Linked DNA regions of Homo sapiens: regions 1 and 3 are each linked to region 2. Evidence: promoter capture Hi-C in 16 types of primary human blood cells and fetal thymus (Javierre and others, 2016). All regions are on one chromosome and are shown on one strand. The core of a region is centred on a gene start or on the middle of the fragment in contact, and the rest is flanking DNA. Distances in the headings are between cores, read along the strand shown. Region 1 overlaps ATXN7 (ataxin 7). Region 2 holds the start of KBTBD8 (kelch repeat and BTB domain containing 8). Region 3 overlaps ATXN7 (ataxin 7).

Region 1 (3,613 bases), core at 1-2,500, 3.1 Mb before region 2:
GATTTTTACTTTTGGGGTGAATGAATCACTTCCAGAAACTTGGGGTGGTGCCTCTAAAATATGTACACGGGTTAAAGCTTCTCTCGGTTTGTTTCACTCTCCTCCATTCCCTCGCACACTGATCTCATGTTCTCTCTTTGCTGGACGAATTCAAGTTCCCCAGGCGCACAGTGTGACTTCCAATTGCGGGTCGGGGGCACACATGTGGGCGGCGTGGCGTGCACACGGTACTTCGTCCTGACACCTGGGCAGACACCTGGGAGGCACTTCCCCGCTAGCCCAAGGTTCCCTGCACGCCCGGAGTCCGCTCTGCGGCGGCTTCCCATTCATGCTTTTGACAACTCTGCGGCCGCCCGCAAGCCGAGGGCAAAGTGCCCCCTGCACCAGCCTCTCCCGCGCTGCCCTGGGGCCGGCCGGCCGGCTCCTCCATAGGTGGCTGCATTTCCGACTTCGCCCTGGCTCCAGTCCGGGGGCTTGACGTGCAAACTTCGCCGGAGCGAGCTGAGAGGGAGGGACCGGCAAGTGGGAGGAGGCGGCGGGAGGCGTCTCCGCTTAAGGGAGCCGGCCGGGTGCCGCCGCTCGGACGGACGCGCGGACGGAAGGAAGGAGCGGGGCAGCCGGGCCGGGCCCGGGGATGCAAGCGGCCGAAGGGTGGGCAGCTGGAGGTCCTGGGGTGCGGCTCGGGCTTCCCCGCGCGGGCTGCCATGGTGGGGCGCGGGGTTGGAGCCGGGCCGCTCCGGCGCTGGCCTCCGCGCCAGGTCCTCTGAGCAGAAGCAGGCAGGGGACCCAGCGCCGCGGTGGCGGGCCGCCTGCTGCCCGTCCCCTCCCTCGGGCGGCCGCGGGAGTCGAAAGCGAAAGCTAGCCCGCGCCGCGGACTTTGAGCCCGGGGCGGGGGGTGGCCTTGAGGAGGCGGGCTCGGGGGGCTGGGCGGCCATGGGGGCGCTGTCAGCGTGCCCCACCCGGTCCGCGGGCCGCGCACGCCGCCGGAACTCCCTGGCGCCTCCTTAAAAAACGGCCCCCGCGCGACTCTTTCCCCCTTTTTTTTGTTACATTGTAGGAGCGGAAAGAATGTCGGAGCGGGCCGCGGATGACGTCAGGGGGGAGCCGCGCCGCGCGGCGGCGGCGGCGGGCGGAGCAGCGGCCGCGGCCGCCCGGCAGCAGCAGCAGCAGCAGCAGCAGCAGCAGCCGCCGCCTCCGCAGCCCCAGCGGCAGCAGCACCCGCCACCGCCGCCACGGCGCACACGGCCGGAGGACGGCGGGCCCGGCGCCGCCTCCACCTCGGCCGCCGCAATGGCGACGGTCGGGGAGCGCAGGCCTCTGCCCAGTCCTGAAGTGATGCTGGGACAGTCGTGGAATCTGTGGGTTGAGGCTTCCAAACTTCCTGGGAAGGACGGTGAGTGTCCACGCCCTCCTCCCCCCTTCACCCCCTCGCGACCCCCTCCTCTCTCCTCCCCTCCCCCCTGCCCCCCTCCTGTGACCCGCCCCCTCGAGGGGCAGAGATGCTATCGTTTGCTGGGTTGCGGAACGCGGAGGTGCCCACACCTACCCCGTGCGTGCGTGAGTGTGCGTCACACTCCTGGCCACTGACCTGCCTCTCCCCTCCTCCTGTGTGTGTATATCTCCTAGGGACAGAATTGGACGAAAGTTTCAAGGAGTTTGGGAAAAACCGCGAAGTCATGGGGCTCTGTCGGGAAGGTGAGTCCAGCCCCCCTGATGGAGTTTGTACAAACCCCTGGGAAGTTTCATTGACAGTTCACTGGGACCGGGAACATCAGCCCACCATACCGACTCCCCGACTCCCCGTGCCTGCGAAGATGCTGCCTGAGGAGGGAGGGAGGGGGCAGAGCGCTTGGAAAGTTTGGTTTGGGGGCCTCCTGTAATGAGAGCGTCCGGAATCCTTCTGTGACCAGGCAGGAGCAGCATTATTGGTGATGAGCGCTGGGAACCGGCGGGAAGTTTAACCTAGATCTCTGCATTTCTGACCTCCTTACGGAGAAACAGGAGTAGAGGAAGGAATTCTCAGCTTTGAAACCTTTCCACGAATGCTTAGGGGACATTTTCTGTTGGCAATCGAAACGAATTTTGAACTTAAAGAAGATGCTTTACCTATGCAGTCTTATTTCTGTAGGATTTAAGGTACAAGTTGGGGATGTTAGAAAAAGGTCATCATAACCCGGAGTGCATTTTGGTCAGATTTTTTGCGAGCTGCCAATATCACGGGGGAAAGAAAGCCAGAATTTTATTTGGTCAAATAAGCCTTTACTGCCCGTGGCTGGTGAAATCAGGGTCTAATTATTTGTTAGTTTTAAACTGTTTGGTAAAAAGATACACTAGGGAAATAGGGTATGCCTCCAAATGAAAGTCAGGCCAGGTATCTGGAAAGTGTCAGACTTTTTCTTGAGATTTTCTTTTTCTTTGAATAGTAAGCTTTTGTTGTCTAATACCTGCACTAGGCCTGGGCATACCGTGGTCAGAAAGGACTTCTGAAGTCCAGTGAACTTCGGGTTCAGTTTCAAGTTATTCTTTCAGTGAGTTAGGACAAGGCTTTGAGTGAGGTTTGGCCCCGGAATACTGAGTTTATAGTCCCCGAATGCAATTTTATTTCTCACTCGTAGCCATTTATTTTGCAGAATTGTTGTCTATGGCCCAAGGATAGGTAGAACTTTGGCAACTGGAACATTTTTAAGTCCAAAGTTTGCCCATTGTTACTGTCTTCACATTTCCTTCTCGCTTTTCACACCTGCTTTTTCTTCACTTAACTCTGTTTCGGTTTTTTTGAATTGGGCGCTTTTTGGCCTCTTGGCACTCGGAGGAAGAGTAATACCAGTGACAGCCCGATGAGAGCTTCCAATTGGAACAGATTATAGAACAAATTAGTTGATTTTTAAAATGAGAATTGCTATTTGAGGGTAAAGGAAAGCAAGGGAAAGCACAGGACTTGTTGATGATGTTGCAATATGAAAAATCAGTTGCTAGTCCGGTTTTAGTGCTGAATTGGCAGCCTGCCTGGGCTTAAAAAATTAAAATCACTAGGTGGCAACTCTCACAGTAAGCAGTTAGAGTAGAACTTTAGAGGACCTGACCTACTCTTGTTCTTAGTTTTCATTCTCTGGGTGTGGATACATATCCTATAAAACGTTTCTAAATCTGTGTGAAAACAAGATTGTAATTATCAATAATTCTGCTGTAAAGGATGAGTTAAGTGTATTAATGTTTCAGTGGGTACCTTGAGCTGGACAGGGACCCAACCAAATTAAGGGGACTGTACCTCATTTTTGCTAGATATATTATTTTCTGTTGGGATACTTTTATCAGCATGTTTTTCATGAAGAACTAAGACGTTAAACTACCTACTTGAGGCACAAAAGGGACATGGATCTTGTTAGTGTTTTGTTTTGTTTTTTGAGACGGAGTCTCACTCTGTGGCCATGCTGGAGTGCAGTGGTGCGATCTTGGCTCAGTGCAACCTCCACCTCCTCAGTGCAACCTCCACCTCCCAGGTTCAAGCGATTCTCCTGCCTCAGCCTCCCGAGTAGCTGGGACTGCAGGCGGCGGGCCACCACACCCAGCTAATTTTTTGTGTTTTAGTAGAGAGGAGGTTTCACCACGTTGG
Region 2 (3,479 bases), core at 72-2,571:
CTCTTTCTCAATCACAATTTAAATTCCAAGATCCTTTCTTTATCAAGAAGTTCAACGGTTTGATCTTTTCAGTGCTAGAAAAGTTATGCACACGGGCTAACTATATGTCTACTAGAAATTCTTCCCATTCGCTGATACTTCCTTACATTTTAACATCTAGAAATAGCATTCCCAATGTTAGCTCATTTGCACCTTACATTTATTTTTAAAATATGAAACATCTATAATGTGCCAGGCACCCCGTTAGATGTTAGAAACACAAGATGAGTAAATAAAAATTCGTCAACAGTAAAATTTTGATTTTCTTTCCAAAAGGTTGCAGCCTATGAAATCCATGGAGTACGGATTACTATTACTTCACGTTACAGATGAAGGATCTAAGCGCTCAGGGGTTGAAAGGTCTTATGTCAGTTCTCACATATAGTGACTAAAGAGCCAGGGCTTCAGTAATCATCCCTGGCTCCGGGCTCAGGGCATTCCGGTATTTTTTCAAAGGAAATTCCGGAATACTTAGTATTGTATCCCCTCCATTTCCCAAGAGCAAAAAGTAAAGCATCTTGGATCCCCTTGTAATGTTCACGTGAGGAACAGGTGTTCTCTGGGTGTGCTAGAAAAGCAAGGCACCAGTGGGAGTTGAAGATCCTAAGCAGCCGCTGTAACCAGACCAAGTTAATCTGTGGAAACCAGAGCACCCGGCCAAGGCGATGCTATTTCAATTGGGTGTCATAGGTGACTCATCAGAGACGCCTTGCTTTTGGGCCTTGTGATATTTTTCTTCAGGGTGGGACGTCAGATTTCCTTTGCATTTTTGGACAACAGCCCTCCTGTCCATTTCCACATTTTTCTGGTTTTACAGCTCTCACGCAGAGCTTGATTTCATACCGGAAGCTAGTCACTGGCAGGAAGTTTACGGAAGAAGAAAAAGGTAAAAAAATGTGCCGGGGGCCAGGAGAGAGGCCTAAAATGGGGAAATTCGCACTTGAAGAGCTTTCCCTACCCCAGCCCCTCAGAATGACAGTTCTCCTCCGCCAGAAGACTACCTCTCCCGGCAGGCACTGCGCGCTCGACGGCCACAGGCTGGCCAGCTCCCTGCTCTCCACCTCCATCCGAATCAGCCAATAGGAATTCCCGGCTTGGGCCTCCGCCCGACCCGGACCACGCGGGAGCCGGGGCAATCAAACTACATTTCCCGACACGCATGTGCTCGCGTCGTGGCCAATCAGCGCCAGGAATTCGGAGGCTAGGGGTGGAGCCAGATGCACAGGACACCCCATTGGCCAGGGGAAGCTTAGAAGAGCCGGAACCCGGGAGCTAGAGAAGCGAAATGACATTTCCTTTTTAAATAGCTGGAGTCGGGGCCCCATCGAGAAATGGCCGCGTCGGCAGGTGGGTCGTGTGGTGGCCAGGGCGGCGTGGAGGGAGGTGAGGGGGAAGGTGGGCCGGGGCCGGCCACAGGCAGTGGGATGAGGACGTAGCGGTGCGGAGCTAGAGGGAAGGATGAAGCGGTGGAGGGGAATGAGAAGAGGGAGGATGAATGGTGCGGAGGGCGGTGGGCGGTCCGGCGGGACCGGGATGGGGAGGCTGGGTACCCGCCGGCGCTGCGCCCCAGGAGGCAGCGGGAGGCGGCTTGAGGGGGCACCGGCGGCCGCCGTTGTTCGAGCTTCCCTCGTGAGGCTCTGCCCTCGGCTCTCGGCGGAGTCCGCGCAGACGCCTCTCCTGGGCTGCGAGCGCGTTTCCTCCGCGAGCACGGGTGCCGGGCTCGCCGGGCTCCGCAGGAGCAGGCTGGCCTTTGAACTTGTTCCGCCGATCGCGCTCCGCCCTCTGTCTCCCAGATCCTTAACTCGCGGTCCCACGAGGTCGTGCGTATATCCACAGACATTTGTATATATCTTGTAGGGGGAAAAAGCCTAGCAAGCAGACACACAAACAGAAAAATCCCGCGATGCCGTAACTGGCTCGGCACTTCTTGTAGTTGTACGATTTTTCTCCTCCTAGATTTAAGTAAGTCTTCCCCAACACCGAATGGGATTCCATCTTCAGACCCAGCCAGCGATGCCATGGACCCCTTCCATGCTTGCAGTATTCTTAAGCAACTCAAAACAATGTACGATGAAGGACAGTTGACAGACATTGTAGTGGAAGTGGATCACGGGAAAACATTTTCCTGTCATAGAAACGTTCTTGCTGCAATCAGCCCTTACTTCAGGTATGATGATGGTAGGAACTTCTGTTGGTATCTGCACCAAGCTCCCTTTCCCCCTCAGTATTGTCCACTTGATGTTTATATTGAGATGCGATAATGAAATGAAACCAATGACTTTGTTTCTTGAGACTAGAAAACAAGTCCTCTCTTAACTAAGACCTTCTTTTGACTTGAGGGATTCTTCTAGATTTCGGGTGATTGCTTTTTAAGTTAGTGGGCCTGTGTGTGTGTGTTTGAGGTAAATGACCAGAAAATCTAGACTTGTGCTGGTCAGTATGGAAGCCAGTAGCCATGTGTGGCTGTTTAAACTTAAATTATAAGTTAAATAAAATAAAACATTTAGTTCCCCAGGTACACTAAATACTTTTTGAGTGCTTGCTGGTCACCTGCAGCTAGTGGCTGCCATATTGGGCAGCACAGAAATACAGCATTTTCATCATTGACAATTTTATTGGACAGTGCTGATCTAGAATTTCTTTCAAAAAGTTATCCATAATGCATGTTTCTTTAGTGTATGGGACTCTTTTATAAAATAGTTTAAAACATGTAGCATGTTCCTTCAAAAACAAATTACCACTCAATAGATTGTTTAAATGCTATGGGGGTCAAAGCAAGAATGAATATAGTTTCTTTGTGCCTAAGGCCCCAAATTAATAATATCCAAGATTTCTAGAAGTATGTTAAACGAAGTTTTTGTTTTTACTTATATTGTCTACTATAAAACTTTTAAAAGTAAAATTTAAAAACTTGGGTCTGAAAAATAACTTCCTACTTTAAGATGAGTGGAAAAGGCAGTTTTCTGCATGGGCTTAACTTCTTTTGTGTCAAATGCTCACTTTAAGCCTTTCAGTATTCACAAGTGGTGCATAAATAATAGTAAAGTTATCAACCACACTCTGAATGTGATTTTTCCTTTTGAAGGTGCTTACCTTTATAGGGCACATAACCATATAATGTTCCAACAGTAGTTTCTGGTTCCTCTTTCTCAGAATACTGGGTTAAATATAGTCACTTCAGTCTGATGCTTGTGATGTAACCGTTTAGACTTGCCTAGGGTAGGTCATTGGACTACTAAGTATTAATCATCGCAAGACAGTGAGCTGGAAAGAAAAAAAAACTCACATATGCAGAAGGTATGAAGTTTGGCCTGGTAATGGAAACTTCTAGTGAGATTCACTTACCCAGATTATCTATTAGATATGGTTAGGTCATTTGTATGTTTAAATATATGTCACAGTTACTACTTATCAAGCTCTAGGCTAAGCTTACTTTACAT
Region 3 (3,610 bases), core at 932-3,431, 3.0 Mb before region 2:
CAGTTTTTCTGTTTCTGTTTAACTCCTCTATCATCCATCCAGTTTCTCCTTGGTTGTAATCATAATAGCTAACATTTGCTGAACGTTTAACAAGTGCTGGGCGTTGCATTACCTGCATTATCTCAAATTTACTCCTCACCCCAGGCTTGTGGGAGGAGGCAGTATCAGTCCTTAGCTCTCCTGAGTCTCTTGCCCACGGCTGCACAACTAGAAGTGCTCAGACTGCAGGCTGGCTGCCCCCTGAACCCAAACCTTGAGTGTTCCTCCTAGCCTCCTGCAAGTTTGCCTGTTTGCTGCGAATAGGCTAATGCACAGTTCAGAACTCCCTTTGTGCACTAGAGTAAAATTGACATGTGTACACCATCCAAACCACAGCTGATACATATAATTTTCGGTCAGTGAGGCACGGATGTTATTCTATTAAGATGTTATTTTAGTCTGTAGTATTTTTTTAGTCTGTAGTCTTAATTTTTTTCTTAGGGAAAAAGAAATATGACCATGTCCCCAGACCTAGACAATTAACGTCTGAGCCATCATTGGGATATTTAATATCAAAATAAACTTTATTTGGATAGGATATCGAGAAACGGTTTGAAGAAAATTGTGATAATGCTTTACAAGCAGAACAAAGCAGTATTTGCTTAAACATTTTATTCAGGGCATTAAGGGGGCACATGTGAGTGTTTAAAATTTTAATCTGAGCTTTGTTCTCAATTTCTGTGTATGTGTACAAAATTAATATTTTCCTGGCATACACGACCATTCATCCCTTTTCTGATGTAGGTCTTAAAAATAAGTTAAAATTCGTTTTTCTCTTGTTTATTTGTGAACTTAAATATAGACGTTTGTTTGTAGCATTTAAGAACATTTGCTAAAATTCACCCTGGTTTTTTACAGGGTTGCAGAACGACTTGATTCTTAGAACTGTCTTGGATTGGCTGACTCTCATAACGATATTTTTCCCCACTGTATTTCGTACAATCACTGTGTACGAAAGGGAATATTAGAAAGGCAAGCATTTGTGCTAGGAAGGCCAGCAAGGACTCTGGTGTTCTGTCATACAAGTACAGTGATAGGGAAGTGAGATTTAGCTCCAGAAAGATCCTCCTACCCTGTTCTTTTCTGCTATTGATGGCATTAAGGAGATTCCTTGGCTACCCCTGCAGGGAGGGCAGGTGAAGTAGGGTGAACAATACTAAGACCTGTGGCAATCAGGTTTTACAGCCATGGAATTTTTTTTTTCTAGCTTAAGAAAAGCTTCAGTGAATTAACTTAAAATTCTTATTTTCGCTTATGAGCTTTTAAAAAGATTTGGGAGATGTATCCTCATCCTGTGCTTCTAAGGCTTGCTGATGGCTCTTCCCTTGCGTTCTTCTAGTGTCTTCTAAGGGCTTCCATAGTTTTGGATTGTATGAACGTTACTGTAAGGAATCTGGGGGAAAAAAAGTGGGTTTCAGAAAACCCCCTGGGTCTTAGTATTGTTGACATGGGTTGGGATCTGAATCCTTGTGAAAATAGGGCAGTGCAGCTACTGTTCTTCTGTTTTAGAGTCAATTTAGAATTTGGTCTAATAGAAGCCGTTTTCATGCCTCTCTCAGAACTCTTCCCCGCACCTTTCAGGCTAAATCATTTCCACATATGTAATTCATGACTTTTGCCAAATATTCTGTATGGGGTGATAGGATTCTGTAGAAGAATCTTTTGCTGCTTCTTTTGACATTTAAAAGAGTTCATTTTGAACTATCAGGTATCTAAGTCATTATTATCATAAAACTCAGATCACTTGGCAGTTTTTTCCATGTCACTTGTGGGGATTTTTTGTTGTTGTTTTGTTTTTATTAGAACTCTGTCACCTGGGCTGGAGTGCGGTGGCACAGTCATAGCTTACTGCAGCCTCAAACTCCTGGACTCTTGCCTCACCCTCCCAGGTAGTTGGGATTACAGGTGTGAGCCATTACACCCCATTCTGTGTCATTTGACAGTAGATTTGTTGATTGGCCAGAGAGAGGGAGTGTGATAGGGATGATAGGGAAACAGGCCAGGAAGACACTGTTTTCAAGGGGGCACTCAGTGAGAGAAATTCTTGGATTTAAAAGTATGAAAGCTTTAGTCAGTCCTCTAGTGATTGAACAACAAACTGGACAAATGTGGATATGAAATTATACATATTTTACAAATATGCACAGAAAGTGGGTTCAGATATTTTGTTACTAGATTTAGGAAGGAAAAGTATGCTTAGGAATAATAAACTTTTTTTGAAAAGCTTAGCAACTGTAGATAGTATAGGGGAAATAAAACCTGGAAAAATGCTGCAGGTATTTTATAGAAATGTTTAACTTTAAGACCTTTAGGTCTACCGAGACTTAAAATGTAGGTTTTTAAATAAATCATGTAAGTTTTGTAATATACCTGGTAGTAGCTTTGTCAGTTTAAAGGTATTCAGAAAAAAAATTCACAAAATATAAGTAATTTGCATTTTAGCAGGTTAAACTTATAAATTCCATCTTCCCCAGTTTTGACAAGTTGCCTTTCCAATAGAAAGATTAATTTACACCAGCCAGGACGCCTTGTATGACCATATTAGATGAAATTAGACTCCACCCCCTGTTTTCTGTTGATCTGCCAGGACCTTTGTAATTCAAGTGCTTTTTACAGTAGTAGCAAATGTTACATAAGCCCAAACATGGAGCATATTTGGAGTTGGTGGGCAGACCCAAATCATGATGCAAGCCTGCAGTAGCAAGTGTGCAATGAAGCACAACCAAATTCTGTGAATGGAAGGTAGCAAGACGCCTCTCCAAAGCAGCCCTTCTGCGCAGGAGCTGAAAGCTCCACTGGGTAAGTTTTCTGAGGCAGTTTTCAGAGTCTGGGCTTGGCTCAGGGCCCAGCTCTGGATGAGCCTGTGGACGGTGGGGTAGGTCTTTGCTAACCTTACATAGAACCAAGCAGATTTGGGAAGAGTTTATGCAGGCCTTTTTCCTCCTGGCATTTGTCTTGCCTTGCCAGCAGGCCAGGAGGGTTCTGCTGCTCAAGTAGTGGAGGGAGGGAGCCTGCAGAGCTAGGGGATCAGCGTGGGTAATCGCAGCCACAGGGATTAGCTGCTGCAAGCTGTCCACAGAAGCCATTCTGAAATGTCATTTGAGTGATCTGGCCAAAGTTCAGATGCAGACGGGAGCCGAGTTTGTTATTAACTCCAACAAAATGCTGAGGTTTGCACCAAACAGTTCCCATATCTCAAAACAGAGAGAGTATTGGTTACATCTCTCTCTAAAAATGGAGGAACGTTGTAACACGCTTTAACTGTTTGTTTTTTATCTTACTTGTGGTAAGTGAGGTTTCATGACAGGCAGTTTGCAGTGTTTCCTGTAGAATGTGTTTGAAAGCTGTTTTGTCAGATACTTCAATTCCACAGCAAAGTTTCAAACAGAACACTGCGTCAAGAGGAAGAACAACTTCAAAATACAAACAGTAACCCTGGGAAGTCATTCAGTAACTTAAATTGAGTGTATAAAAATTTAATTATGGACTGACTGCCAGAAAAGATGATTTTTTTTAGTTGTGTTATTAAGGTAGCCAGCAGAGCTAAGCTGATTCTTGGGTGGATGTGTGG

What was found. The method cuts DNA at HindIII sites, captures the fragments that hold promoters and counts their contacts. A CHiCAGO score of 5 or more calls a contact.
Region 1: a fragment that was not itself captured here is called in contact with the fragment with the promoter of KBTBD8 in region 2 in 2 of 17 cell types (fetal thymus and total B cells); the score reaches 11.1 in fetal thymus.
Region 3: a fragment that was not itself captured here is called in contact with the fragment with the promoter of KBTBD8 in region 2 in 1 of 17 cell types (fetal thymus); the score reaches 8.5 in fetal thymus.

Annotation. Positions count from the first base shown.
Region 1 is chr3:63,911,531-63,915,143 of GRCh38, forward strand. ATXN7 (ataxin 7) reads left to right here. Exons shown (of 13, transcript NM_001377405.1): 3 at 1,058-1,393; 4 at 1,627-1,695. The coding sequence starts at 1,069. It also overlaps SCAANT1. Among named protein-coding and RNA genes, the nearest start is that of ATXN7, 49 kb to the left of the region's middle. RefSeq lists an enhancer at 122-201 and a silencer at 532-1,371. The HindIII fragment of the contact is 2,350 bases long and covers 76-2,425 here.
Region 2 is chr3:66,996,986-67,000,464 of GRCh38, forward strand. KBTBD8 (kelch repeat and BTB domain containing 8) reads left to right here and starts at 1,322. Exons shown (of 4, transcript NM_032505.3): 1 at 1,322-1,386; 2 at 1,996-2,206. The coding sequence starts at 1,371. RefSeq lists enhancers at 980-1,079, 3,043-3,142 and a silencer at 1,420-1,739. The HindIII fragment of the contact is 2,180 bases long and covers 1,286-3,465 here.
Region 3 is chr3:63,965,138-63,968,747 of GRCh38, forward strand. The region is part of intron 5 of ATXN7 (ataxin 7); the gene reads left to right. Among named protein-coding and RNA genes, the nearest start is that of PSMD6-AS2, 37 kb to the right of the region's middle. RefSeq lists an enhancer at 3,176-3,395. The HindIII fragment of the contact is 159 bases long and covers 2,103-2,261 here.